Linked DNA regions of Homo sapiens: region 2 is linked to region 1. The links are contacts of gene promoters, found by promoter capture Hi-C in human tissues and cell types (Jung and others, 2019). All regions are on one chromosome and are shown on one strand. Each heading gives the region's core, a stretch centred on a gene start or on the middle of the fragment in contact. The rest is flanking DNA. Distances are from core to core; before and after follow the strand shown.

Region 1 (6,754 bases), core at 1,770-4,269:
TGATGAACCACAAAAACATTATATGCTACGTGAAAGAAGCTAGACACAAAGAGCACACAGTGTATGATCCCATTTATTTAAATGTCCATTAAACAAATCTGTAGAAAAGAAGGTAGATTAATGCTTACCAAGTGTTGGGGATGAATGGGGAATGGCTGAAAAATGGGACAGAGATTTCTTTTGGGGATGATGTAAATGTTTTAGTTTGTAGTGACAGTTGCACAACTGTGACTAAAATCAATAAATTGAATGCTTTAATAAATAAATAAAATAAAGCTGTCTTTAAAAGGTTACAATTCTTTTCAGCTGTTTAAGGTTGAAACCCTCTCAGATGGTTAATGATCTCATGCCTCAGGTCTCTATTAATTATATGGGAGAAATACCCCCATACCCCACTTAGCAAGTTAGGCATAATGTTACATGACCTGCTTTCTTCTCCATCTACTCCTCGATTTACTATTCTTAATACTAAGGTATCATTTAGAAACCATGGTGTTACTCGTGTTTACTGACAATAGATAAACAAAATGTATTTTTCTTCAGCTTGCTTAATTCCAAATTCTCCTATATTTAAGCAAAACAAATTACCTTTGGAATCACATATGACTTTTAATCACAACATATAAGCCAGAAAACAGATGGACAGATTTGACTACACTTGTGTGTTTAGCCAAGTATAGCACTTCCCTGAATGTTTGGTCTTTTTGACATCTGACTAAACATGAGGGGCCTCTTTCTATTTTAACAGATTTTCCCCATCCCTTTCCTTCCTTCTCATTCTTCAAGGCCATAATTTCTCCACTTTTACCATAGTTCCAATATCTTACTTGCACTCATTACAAAGTCCACCCCCTACTCCTTTCCCTTCCTGTACTTCAAATAGCCTTTCCTAGCCTAATCTTGAGTGTGAGGAGAAACTACCATTTAAGCAGTAGTCAGTGAAATACTTTTCCCTCTAGACACAGACTTAGTGGACCTTCGTGGATAAGATATTTGGAAAAATTTTAAATGTCATTTACAGTTTTTTTTTTTTGCCTCTTGAAAGAGAAGAACTGTTGCAAAGTATTAATTTTGATCTTAACTCTGACACATTTATTAACACCCCAAAAAAGCAAAGATATATATGTCTTGCCAGAAGGCTATACAAAATATTTTAAGGTTCTATCTTCTATAATTCCTGGCTAGTAGATACAGTTATCTAAACTACAAAAAGTTATAATTTGTTGCTTATTGATAATGTTATGACTTTTTTTTTTTTTTTTTTGAGACGGAGTCTCGCTCTGTCGCCCAGGCGGGACTGCGGACTGCAGTGGCGCAATCTCGGCTCACTGCAAGCTCCGCTTCCCGGGTTCACGCCATTCTCCTGCCTCAGCCTCCCGAGTAGCTGGGACTACAGGCGCCCGCCACCGCGCCCGGCTAATTTTTTTTGTATTTTTAGTAGAGACGGGGTTTCACCTTGTTAGCCAGGATGGTCTCGATCTCCGACTTATTTTTAAAGTTCCCTAAATAAACCAACTTTTGAATAAAAATGGGCTTTTCATTTTAATAACACATACTCCTTGATGATAATGGTTTGATTCATTTCTCTTACAGAACTAATTTCTTCCTACTTCACACACATTAAATGCTTTGTTTATACTGATAATGTCGTGCTCATCCTAAATTAAAGTTTGACTATGTCTGTTTCCCCAGAGACACACCATCTGATTGGGATGCAGCCGTAGAGTAGCAGAAAGAGCAGTGAAGCTGGTATTAGAATGCCTGGATTACAGTGTTTGTTCTGTTACTTAGCAGCTGTGTGACTTTACTGTCTTAATGATATGGATTTTTGTGCTGCTGCCAAGTATGAAACAGTTTGGCACACTATTTAGATACGCAAAATATGTGATCCCCACAACATTTTAGTGAGTGTAAAGAAGATAGGATAGACCATTTAAAATGGAAAATTTTGAACAAAAGGTCACCATAGACTTGAATAAATTACTTAAACTTCTGAGACCCACTTTTGTCATGTAATAAAATAGATATAATGATACTTACCTCTCAGGATTAAGGGTTAACTGAAATATTGTATGTGAGGGTCTAGCTCAGTGTCTGGAAAATGGATGATGTTAATTAAGGTTTCCTTAGGTTGGAATGCTCCTTTCACCCCCTCCATCCGCCCCCTCCCCCAAAAAACACTCCAAAATTCAAACATGCATATTCTGATTCATCTTTTAAGGAAGAGCCCAAGAGGCACCATTCTACAAAATCTTTCCAAACAACTTCAGGCAGTACAGCCCTTTGGTTAAGAGTACTGGGCTTCTGGAATCAGAAGAGACCACCAAATTTAAAACCAGGTCTCCCATTTAGTAGCTCCCTGACACTGGACAAATTACTTATTTTCTCTGCACCTAGATTTCCCATCTGTAATATAAAATCATCATGATACATACCTCATAGGGTTGCAGAGGATTAAATGAGATATACATACAGAGCACTTAGCACAGTCCCTGAGTTAATAAGTCCTCCGTTAAGTATTACATAGGAGAAGTAGTAAAAAGTTTCCTCTTAAGTAAAATGCTAATAAAAGTGCTTACCCTGCCTCCCAAGATTGTGGCAAAGTTATGACGCAAGGCTTTTAAACTGTAATGCTGAACAAACGTAAGGGATTGGTATATACCTTGAGATATTTTGGACAAAGTTCTAACCTTACTTTTATACAATATGCTTTCTCTCACCCGCCTGCAGTTGGGTTAATAATGCCCAGCATTAATTAATAAGCAATAAAATCAGAAGATACCCCGAATACAAGTAGCTGACGCTCAGAGAGCAGTATTAAGGCGAGCACCCGCAGACCGGACCTGGATAACTCCTTGGAGTTCACCTCTAGCGGCCCCCTCCCCTTGGAGCTGCGCAAGCGTACACTGACTTTGCTCCTCTCTAGTGCCCCCGCCTCCAGCAGCCGCCCCCCCACCCCCCCGTCTGCCCAACACGCAGGCGCGTCTCCTCAAATCCTGTCCCTACACCCCTCCTCTTTCTCTTCATTTCGTTCCCCCTCCTCTTGCAGCACCTCGGCAGGTTCAAACTCTTCTCCGGGAGCGTGGCGGCGATCGCGAGGTCACGTGATGAGCATCCTGCTGCCCAACATGGCGGAGTTCGACACCATCTCGGAACTGGAGGAGGAGGAGGAAGAAGAAGCGGCAACGTCGTCGTCGTCGCCGTCGTCGTCGTCGTCGGTATCTGGGCCCGACGATGACGAGGAGGATGAGGAGGAAGAGGAGGAAGAGGAGGAGGAGGAAGAAGAGGAGGAGGAGGAAGAGGAGGAGGAAGCGCCGCCCCCGCCTCGGGTAGTGAGCGAGGAGCATCTGCGGAGATATGCTCCCGACCCTGTATTAGTGCGGGGTGCCGGCCACATCACTGTGTAAGCGAGAGGGGGTCTTGGGACTTGAAATGCCTGAGATTTGGCAACAGAGGAATGAGAAGTGATCGAGGGGCCTGTGGAGTGGGGGAGGGTTGACTGATTGACTGAGGCGTACACTTAGGAAAGGACACCTGGTCTAAATGGGGAAACCATGGGTGGATACGTGTGAAGGAAGTGAGGAGAATGTAAATATGATGCACCAATGCCAGGTAAAGAGTGAGTATAGGAGAGGGAAGTTAGGGGTTTGGGAGCCAGAGCGATTGGAGTAGGGGTGAGTCTCCTTTCTTGTATGTATGCTGGCAAGTGAACAGTCTCTAAACTGCAGGATGTACCAGAGGGTTTTTTGCTGACAAGATTGATACTTTGTGGGAAACAGCAATTGCTGTGACATGTGACAAGAACTAGGCTTGCATTCTTCAAAACAGAAACATGATATATTTTGTGAATAATAATAGAATGTTCATTCACCCACGTATTCATCCATCCATTCTTCCTATCGAATCCTTCCTTATATATCACTCGATTAGAGGTTCAGGATGAGAGGCAGCTATGGAAAGTAGAAAAAGAAATGGATTGAGTCAGGGCTCTTAGACGCTGGTCCCGGTTTTGCTTCTTACTGGCCCTGTGACCTTGGTCAGGTTGCTTTTTCTCATTTCTGCGCCTTGATTTCTTCATCTCTAAAATGAAGGGTTTGGAGTAGATGGTTTCTAAAGCTTTTCAGTTCTGAGATAATTTACCTCCAAGGGATTTTGTATGCCCAAGTATGAAATATACAGGCATTAAATATATATGGAAATTAATACTTTGGGAGCTGAGCATAATTTCTTTAAAATTTATCCAGGGTGGTTTTTTAAAAAATTGAAATCTTGAGGAAAAATTGAATATTTCAGAAAATAAAATGGGGAGGGACTTCATAACAGCTACAAGGCAAAAATGTTGATGATTCTCCGGGATTTAAAGAGTGCTTCCTCATTTTTATTTGCTTGGACCATAACTATTTGGAAGTTTGAGTACTGTGTCATGTTCATCCTCTGAACTATGCTATCTTTTACTGCATTTTCAAAATAGGTTGCCTTTTGTTGTTATGTCATGCTGCCTCTGGTTTTGATAATGGCTCACCTAGTCCCTTTGACTTTCAATTGAGTTCATGTTACATTAAATCATATATATGCTACCTCCCTTATATTAGCTTCAATTTTTAACATGTTGAGTTTTTTTTTTTTTTTTTTTTTTTGAGACAGAGTCTCACTCTTTTGCCCAGGCTGGAGTGCAGTGGCGCAATCTTGGCTCACTGCAGCCTCTGCCTCCCAGGTTCAAGCAATTCTCCTGCCTCAGCCTCCTGAGTAGCTGGGACTACAGGCGTGATATGTTGAGTATTTTAATTGTAATATACTTTCGTAATCTTTGCATCAAATATATTAACAAATATTTTGAAATTGGGGAAGTGTTGGGGGAGGGTTTTAGAGCTGCTTTTTGATTAGGAAATTTTAAGACAATTTTTCTTGGTCCAAGAATTTTGCAGATAGCCTACAATATTCAGATGCCAACTTATTGCACGGTTTTACTTCCATTCCTTTTGTCACTAGGGAGACAATTTATTACTCAAACTAATTATGATGGCTGGTACCAAAGGTTACTTTTATGCAGATTATGTTACATGACCGTTTAGTCCATAATTTTATACTCCAACATTCCACCTCCACATTTGCAAAATTCAGGCAAAGGAGAAGGAACAAGAAAATAAAATTTAAGTTACCTGAAATTTATTTATGGTTCCATTCGACCCTGCACAGGTACTTACCAACCTATTTGCTTCATTAGAAGAACACTGACACTTGCCATGCCCAGGCCCTTCTGATTGGTATAATGTCCTTCTAATTAGGAGCATGCGGGTAGTACTGTTGGTATTCATTGACTGAAACCAAAACCTGAAAAGAAGCAAACCAGTACTAGACTCACTAACCATTGTATATACTTTGGAAACTTATTTAGTTTTGTTGTACACATTCTTATACCTAGAAATCACATATGATATTAAATGTCTTGGGATTTGAAAGAGATTACATGTCTTGGAGAAAATTTAACTGGATCTGAGAAATGGGTCTTTGTATGGTAGTGAAGCCTTCCTTTTATCAGTTAAAGTAATATCCTTATGAAGTAGGTAATCTTATTCTGCGACTTCTAAAATATCAACTTCTGTTTATTTTTTTTCTGGCATAGGAGTGTTAGAGTTGCCTTAAACTATATACCCTATCTGAATGAAATATTTAATATTCTCTACCAGCCCTGATTTTTTTCCATTCTTTGTGCAGCCTTCTGTTGTATAGAGCATTTTGTTTCTTCTCAAAGTTTAAAATTTGAGAGCCCTCACCTCAAACTCAGTATATTTTAAGCTCAACATCCTCTCCACATTGCCCGTGCTTTTCATTTGTTTCATTTCTTTCCTTGATGCCACCATTCTGATCTCCCAGGGTAACATTCAAAACCTTTGAGTCATTTTGACTCTTCCTTCTCCTTGAATTGCCCTGTGTCAGTCTGCCCCAGAATTATATCATCATAGTTTCTGAAATATCTCTTAGATTTTTCATTTTCTCATTCCTATTTGGCACCACTCTAGTTTGGGTTGCCATCATCTCCTGCTTGACTTATTGCCACAGTCTGCTGCCTCTCCCTACTCCAGTCCATCCTGTGTGCTTGTGCCAAACTAATTTTCTTAAAACACAGTTTAATCATGTCACTTTCCTGCTGAAAACCTGCATTGGATATTAATTAGCTCTGAGTTTCTGTGCCATCTTCCTTCAATCTCAGAGTTCAAGGAGACCCTCCATTTGTCCAATGCTCACCTGTCCATTTGTGCCTTCCATACCTTTCTCTTCCAGCCTCCTCCCAGATCTTGCTCAACCAGGCCTCCCATCTCTCCAGTATTACCTCTCTCAGCCTGTACCCATATTCAGTCTCTAATTTTTAAAAAACAAAATAAGACAAAAGCCTTCCTATGCCCATGTTCCCTTTAGCTACTATCCAATCTCTCTTTCTTATCCTTCAAATTTCTAAAAAAGTAGCTACATTTACCTTATCTGTTTTCTCTTTACCCCTCTCTGATCTGGATTCTGCTACCAAAACCACAGAGGAGCTATCCTTAATTAATATCACTGTGACCCTCTTGTTGCTAAATTACTGGACATCTTTCATTCCCTATCCTTCAGGTTCTCTCTGCTGCATTTGACACTTATGATGATTTCTTCTTTTTCAGAAGCTTCTACTCCAGGGTTCACAAACACACAGGCCTTCAGAGGCAAGGCAGGTCACAGAAAATAGTGCAGCATAAGGAGACATGGGGCTTTAGTTGAA
Region 2 (6,754 bases), core at 2,732-5,231, 720 kb after region 1:
TCCCAGAAAAGTTTAACACTTGGGGTATGTTCATCCAACAACTTCCATGTACATACACAAACATGAATTCTTATTTTACAATGATTAGATGAAACTATACTATTGCCCTTTAGCCCTTTTTCAATTAATATACTGTATACTTCTTTCCAAGTCAAATATTTATCTTCAAGACTATTTTTATTTTTAATGGCTATGCTGTCCCATTACATGAATACACCAAAATGTATTTAACCAAGTTCCTATTCATGACTAGGTAAGTTTTTCCATTATTTACTGTTATGAACACCGTGAATATGCCCATATCTAAATCTTTTTTTAAATAATGTTAAACATATATTTGGGGGTATATCCCTATAAATGAATACAAATCTTACAGTGTAAGAGATTTGCAAAGATCAGTAAAACACATCTCTACCCTTGAGTTTAAATCAAAGGAGAGAGACACAAACAGGTAACATTTACCATTATCATGTCCATGGATAAAGATAAACAAAATTTCATGGTGCTTCCTAATTGAAACTGCAGCTGTTGCTAACAGAAAAGGCTCAAAGAATACTATTAGACAGTAGCCCAAATTAAAATTCCATTTGCTAGAATTCCAAAGTTATTCTAATGCTAAATATTGCCTCATTGGCATTTCAATATGACATTGTTGTTTCTCCTTTAGCAAGCCTTAAAGGAGAGAACCAAGCAGAAGCTGCTCAGAAAACCACCTACCCTAAAGGCAGAGAAGTGAGTAAGGTGCAGGGCAGTATATGACACTGGACCTGGACTTCCATCTTTCCTTCCCCCTACTATTTCCAGTAAACAACAGTGAGCTATAGCCATTTTCTTTCAGAAACAACGTGGATTCTCTCCCTGGGACTCTCATTCCTGCACAGATCTGCTTACACATAGTTGGGCTGTGCTGGTATTCATGCTGACTTAGAAGACAAAAATAAGAATGAAAAGAAGCTTTTTCAGCACCATGATGGGTCAGATACAGATGACATTAACACAGAAGACAGACAGATTTTTAAAACCTATTCAACAAAGATGAGTTACTGTGATAACACAAACAGTCCTGAATCTTATAGTAACATTTCAGTCACAGGCGCATATACAATGGTGGTCCCATAAGATAATAACACCACGTTTTTACTGTACCTTTTCTATGTTAGATATGTTTGGATATACAAATACTTACCACTGTATTCCAAATGCCTACAGTATTCAATACAGCAACATGCTGTACAGGTTTGTAGCCTAGGAGGAATAGGCTATACCATATAGCCTAGGTGTGTAGTAAGCTATACCATCTAGGTTTGTATAAGTACACTCCCCTATGATGTTCACACAACAACAAAATGACTTAATGATCCATTACTCAGAACATATCCTGTCTTTAAGCAACACATGACTGTATAGTTAAATGTTAATTATAAAATCTAGGTGTTGGGTACATGGCTTTTCACCGTACAATTCTTTCAACTTTTCTGTATGTATGTTTGACAACTTTCACAATACAATTTTGGGAAAAATCCAGCAAGCAGCTTTAAAAATATGGCTGTAAGACCTTTCCTTCTATTATATTTTATTCCTAGGATGATCCTATCCAACGAGATGAACCTATTCAGTGTTTCCTCCATTTTGTTTTAGATTTAGCTTTCTCAAATATGACTTTGAGCTCTCCGACTTTTTAATGAAGTGAAATGAATCAACATGTATTCATAGGCAGGTTACCAAGATAGTACATGTAAAGTTGGGGAGGCACAAGGGGAGGGGCTCTAAGCTCTTGGAAGTCTAGGCTCACTATCTGTATACATCTAAATAAATGAGTATTTCAGACACCCCACTTCTTCATTTAAAAATTAGTGTTAGGGACCCTCTAAACATTTGCCTCAGCTTACCTTTCTGCCTTATCTCACATTAAGTCCTTATTTCCCATATTCTCATTGCAAAGAACTGTGTAGGAAGGAGGGGGGCAAGGACGAAGGCACCAAAGCATGCTATGTCCACGTGCTTCAAGTTTGAATATAATAAAAGGTATTTCTAGAGTAGAGGTTCAAAGCTTGATGTTGAAGGGCAGGGTATAACTGACTGACTGCAGGACCCTGGGGGAGGTCTTATAATCTTCTACTTTAAAACATGTCTTAGCTGGCTTATCTGTAAAAGAGGAAAAAGACTTGTCACAAGCAATGACAAATGAAGTAAATAAATATGAATTTCTGGTCTGGTGAATGGAATGAGAAATGAAACCATCACTGTCGAGTGATGATCCAGAGTGGGCACAGATCTTTTTCTACAAAGGCTTTGTGGGCCACAATGTCTCCAATATATTTAATGGCAAAAACAGCAACTACTTTTGCACCAACCTAATAGCTACTTAATTGTGCCACTGGGCCGCAAAAGCGGCCCCAGGTAAAACATCGATGAATGAACATGGCTGTGTTCCAATATAGAATGGTATTTACAAAAACAGGTAGCCCATGGGCAATAAAGTTTGCCCACCCTTGGTTTAGAATATGGAGTCTGGTTGGGTGCAGTGGCTCACACCTGTAATCCCAGCACTCTGGGAGGCTGAGGGAGGTAGATCGCTTGAGTCCAGGAGTTCAAGAACAGCCTGGGCACCATAACGAGACCCCTTCTCTACGAAAAATACAAACATTAGCCAGGGGTGGTGGCACACACCTATAGTCCTAACTCAGAATGCTGAGGTGGAAGATCACCTGAGCCTAGGAGTTCGAGGCTGCAGTGACCCGTGTTCGCACCATTGCACTCCAGCCTGGGCAACAGAGTGAGAACCTGTCCCTTAAAAAAAAAAAAAAAAGAAAGAAAAATGCAAAGTCCTATCTAAGAATACTATTTGGATGATTACCTGGGCCCTGAGGATGAGGCCCCAATCTAACAGTTATCACTCAAGTCCCACCAAGAAAGCAAGTGTCAGCAATAGCAACAGTTGCAACATCTGTAAATATCAAGGACTGAAATCCAAACACAAAAATGGCATTGTCTCATGAGAAACTCTTAGGAAGATATATACAGAAATATCAAATTTCTGACCACATGCTTTTTGAAGAAACAGCTGACAATCCAGAGCCTGTGGAGCTCACTTTAGCAGGCACACAATAAATGTTTGCTGATGAGTCATTCATTTATTCATCTAATAAACATTTACTGAGGCCTACTAATGTGCCAGGCTGGGCTCTGGAGATGAAGACACCTTCCTTGCCCTCAAGGAGCTCACAGTCTAACTGATAACAGGAAGAGAGACAGGCATATACACAGACAATTACAATACAATCTGATAAGTGCTATAACACTTATCAGGTTGTATTATAATGGCCGATGTAAAATTTCTTCCCAGGGGGTGCTGCTCCAGGCTGCTGCTGGCTGTAACATCAAGAGAGGTGAGGAACAAATTATAGAAATCAAAGGTTAAATGCTTTTCGGTTATTTCAAATATTCAGGCTTTCCCTAACCCGTGGCCATAGACGGAATTGGGAACTAGACACTGGCATGATGTAAAATGGGACTTCCATGCACAGACTTCCAATAAAGGAACTTCTCAATCCCCTCCTCTAAAATATGAGCTTTTTTTTTTCCTTTTTGCTTATACTCCTCTTAACCTCCCCACCCTACTACCCACATGAGCCTGGTTTAATATCTACAGCTAGCAAAATGCTGAAAAATGGGAGCTTACAACTAACTGGATTAACCCAGTGTAACCGGATAGCAAAAAGCAGTAAGTAATAGCTCATTTGGCACTTCTAAATCCAATAATCCTCATCCTTCACTGGAAAAAAAAAGTTAGAATGTTATTAAATACAAAATAGATAATATACAGATCAGAGTAGGAATAAGTTAGAAAAGTTTATTTAATAAACATAATTAAACAGATTCTCTAAACTAGAAATAACATTCAGTTTCAGGAAACCAGAATTAGACCCCTCCAAGACCTTTGAGAATATCTAATTCACCTATGTATTATAAACAAGAAAAATGAAACAGAGAGATAACACACTCTGCCCACTCCCTTTTCAAAATCATGTGAGTGATAGTAACAGACTCCTTGAGGCAAGATTATTACTGTAATAGTTATTTGGTTCAGATGGTTTTATACAAAGATAAGATGGCATTTTTCTGTGCCTCATACCTTTCTTAATAATACCTAGGTTTTTACTGGCTTTTTTGTCTCTGACCAGCAAATAGGGCTGATAACATCAGCAAGTTGTTGACAGTTATACTGAGATCACTGTTTTGGGACCCAATGTCTCTATGAGGCTGTTATTTAATAAGCTTAACATACTATTTTCCCCTAAAGTTATTTCACTGCTCTTGCCTATACACTGTTCCTTTCTGCCAATTAGCCCACTCCTGGTGCCTTCTCACATGCTAGCGTGTTCCTATTAGCATTTCACATCCCCAAAGCATTTAACAGTATGTATAAATGTGGACACTTCAATATTGCCCATATCCTCCCTCAGACCACTCAGAAATATTTAAAATAAGACCAGTCCCTGAATGGATGGGGGAGAAGGGACCGCTGTTTTGTTTCTTGTCTAAATTAGTTTCTCATTAGGGACAAAATGTTGCCCTGTCTTCTCCCCATGCCCAGAGCCAGGAAGCACCACTGTTGTACAGTACTCAAAAGTGCTTTCCTTTTAGATAAAAAGAAATGGATTTCTGTTTAAAGGTCAGACAAGGCTGGGTAAGGTGGCTTATGCCTGTAATCCCAGCACTTTGGGAGGCGGAGGCAGAAAGATTGCTTGAGCCCAGGAGTTCGAGACCAGCCTGGGCAAGACCTCCACTCTAAAAATAAAAACAAAAATAAGATAGAGGTCAGACAAATGTTATCTCAAAATGGCTACCAAGAACCAGACATGTATCCACACAGCAGTTATATTTGGAATTGCAAACATTTCTTCAGACTCAATGGCAACAAATATTACTGGGAGCATATCTGCAACAAACGACATTTGCAACTTACAAATAACATTCAGGCACAAATTGAATAATTCACAAAAGGAAATAAGAGCTAGTAATTAAGATCTAAAAGTCCAGCCTCACTAATAATCAGAGAACTGTATCACAAAACAAAGATATCGGCCAGGTATGGTGGCTCACCCCTGTAATCCCAGCATTTTGGGAAGCCGGGGTGGGAAAATCACTTGAGCCCAGGAGTTCAAGACAAGCCTGAGCAACATGGCAAAACTCCATCTCTACAAAAAAATTTAAAAATTAGCTGGACATGGTGGCACACACCTGTACTCCCGCTACTCAGGAGGCTGAGGTAGGAGGATCTCTGGAGCCCTGGAAGTTGAGGCTTCAGTGAGCCATGATCACGCCACTGTACTCCAGCCTAGGCGACAGGGGGAGAGCCTGTCTCAGAAAAAAACAAAAACAAAAAAACCCCACAGAGATATCATTCATTCATTTACATATGGAGTCAGCAAAAAAAAAAAAAGCAAAAACATTTTTTATAAGTACCTAAATGACTGGGTACAAAAACTGACATTAATTTTTTGAAAAGTAAATATGCCAATTCTTTATAATGTTCAAATCTTTTGACAAATAACTAATTCTAGAAGTCTCTTCGATAAACAACCCAAAATAAATAATAAAAACCAAATGAAAAGATATTCATTACATAATTTAAAATACTGAAAATCTGTAAAATACTTCCATACAACAGAACATCATGAAACAATGACAATTACAAAGAATGTTTAACATGGACATGCGCATGTTATAATGTTAAAAACAAAACACAATATAAAATAGTACACATATATTATCAACTGCAAAGAAAAATGCAGAGAATGAAGTGAATAAATGTATTAACAATAGTTATCTCTGGGTGGTAAAATCATGGATGTTTTTTCTCCCATGCTTGATAGTTACCCTCAGGCAAAGTTACAATATTTACCAAATTTCTAGACTGAGGGAGCTATTCAAATTTAAACAATAGAATAAAAATCACAAAATAGAAGATAAATTTGTCAAATAATTTCAAATCTCTACTAGCCAAAAATTTAAAGACAAAAATTAAGAGGCAAACAATAACATGGAGTAGGTATTTATAACATTACAAAAGTCTGAATACTAATCTTTATTTACAGAACACAAACAGATAATAATAAACAGTAAACTAAAACTTCAACGCATAAATCAACATAAGATATGAACTATCATTACATGAAAGAAAACTGCTGAGATATATATGGAGGAAGAAAATCCAAACTAATAGGCAAACGAAAAATTAATACTGGTTTTTATCCATTAAAAATTAAAAAACAACAACATTCAGCGCTTGTATGAGTAAAAATTGATACAACCTTTTTAGGAAGAAATTTGGCAATAGATACTGAGAGTTTAAAATGTTCATACCCTTTGATGTACTAACTCCACTTCCACGAATGTATCCTAAGCAAATAATAAAAATAAAACAAATGTATTTTCAGTCTTTTATTACAAGAAAAAAGACAATAACCTTTCCATCACTATTGTATATTTAGATCAACACGAAATACTAATAATGGGTTAAAAAAAAAACTACTGCAGTAAATGACTGGTTAGATGTCTCAAAGCATTAGATCAGACAGAAAATCAGGCAAAACAAGAAGGGTGTGTCCAGCCTGCCGCAGTCGGCCATTTTAGACCCTCTGCAGAACAAAAAGCACAGAAAACAAGGGTAGTTAAGGATAGCCACCCCACTAGGCACCAAATCAACAATTCTTTATCTTTTGTCTCCTAGGTATGTAACCCTGTAGTC

Evidence for each region. The method cuts DNA at HindIII sites, captures the fragments that hold promoters and counts their contacts. A contact is called where the count stands out against the background at its distance.
Region 2: a fragment that was not itself captured here is called in contact with the fragment with the promoter of CHIC1 in region 1 in 1 of the 25 tissues and cell types used here (hippocampus).

The regions. Positions count from the first base shown.
Region 1 is chrX:73,560,178-73,566,931 of GRCh38, forward strand. It overlaps CHIC1 (cysteine rich hydrophobic domain 1), which reads left to right and starts at 3,020. Exons shown (of 6, transcript NM_001039840.4): 1 at 3,020-3,403. The coding sequence starts at 3,108. It also overlaps the pseudogene MAP2K4P1. RefSeq lists a silencer at 2,940-2,999. The HindIII fragment of the contact is 8,688 bases long and covers 1-5,387 here.
Region 2 is chrX:74,284,026-74,290,779 of GRCh38, forward strand. The region is part of intron 1 of FTX (FTX transcript, XIST regulator); the gene reads right to left. It overlaps MIR545 (microRNA 545), which reads right to left and starts at 3,184; the gene lies at 3,079-3,184. MIR374A (microRNA 374a) reads right to left here and starts at 3,332; the gene lies at 3,261-3,332. It overlaps LOC124905199 (a long non-coding RNA gene), which reads right to left. Exons shown (of 2, transcript XR_007068266.1): 2 at 3,840-6,405. RefSeq lists enhancers at 1-294, 6,430-6,754. The HindIII fragment of the contact is 4,959 bases long and covers 1,503-6,461 here.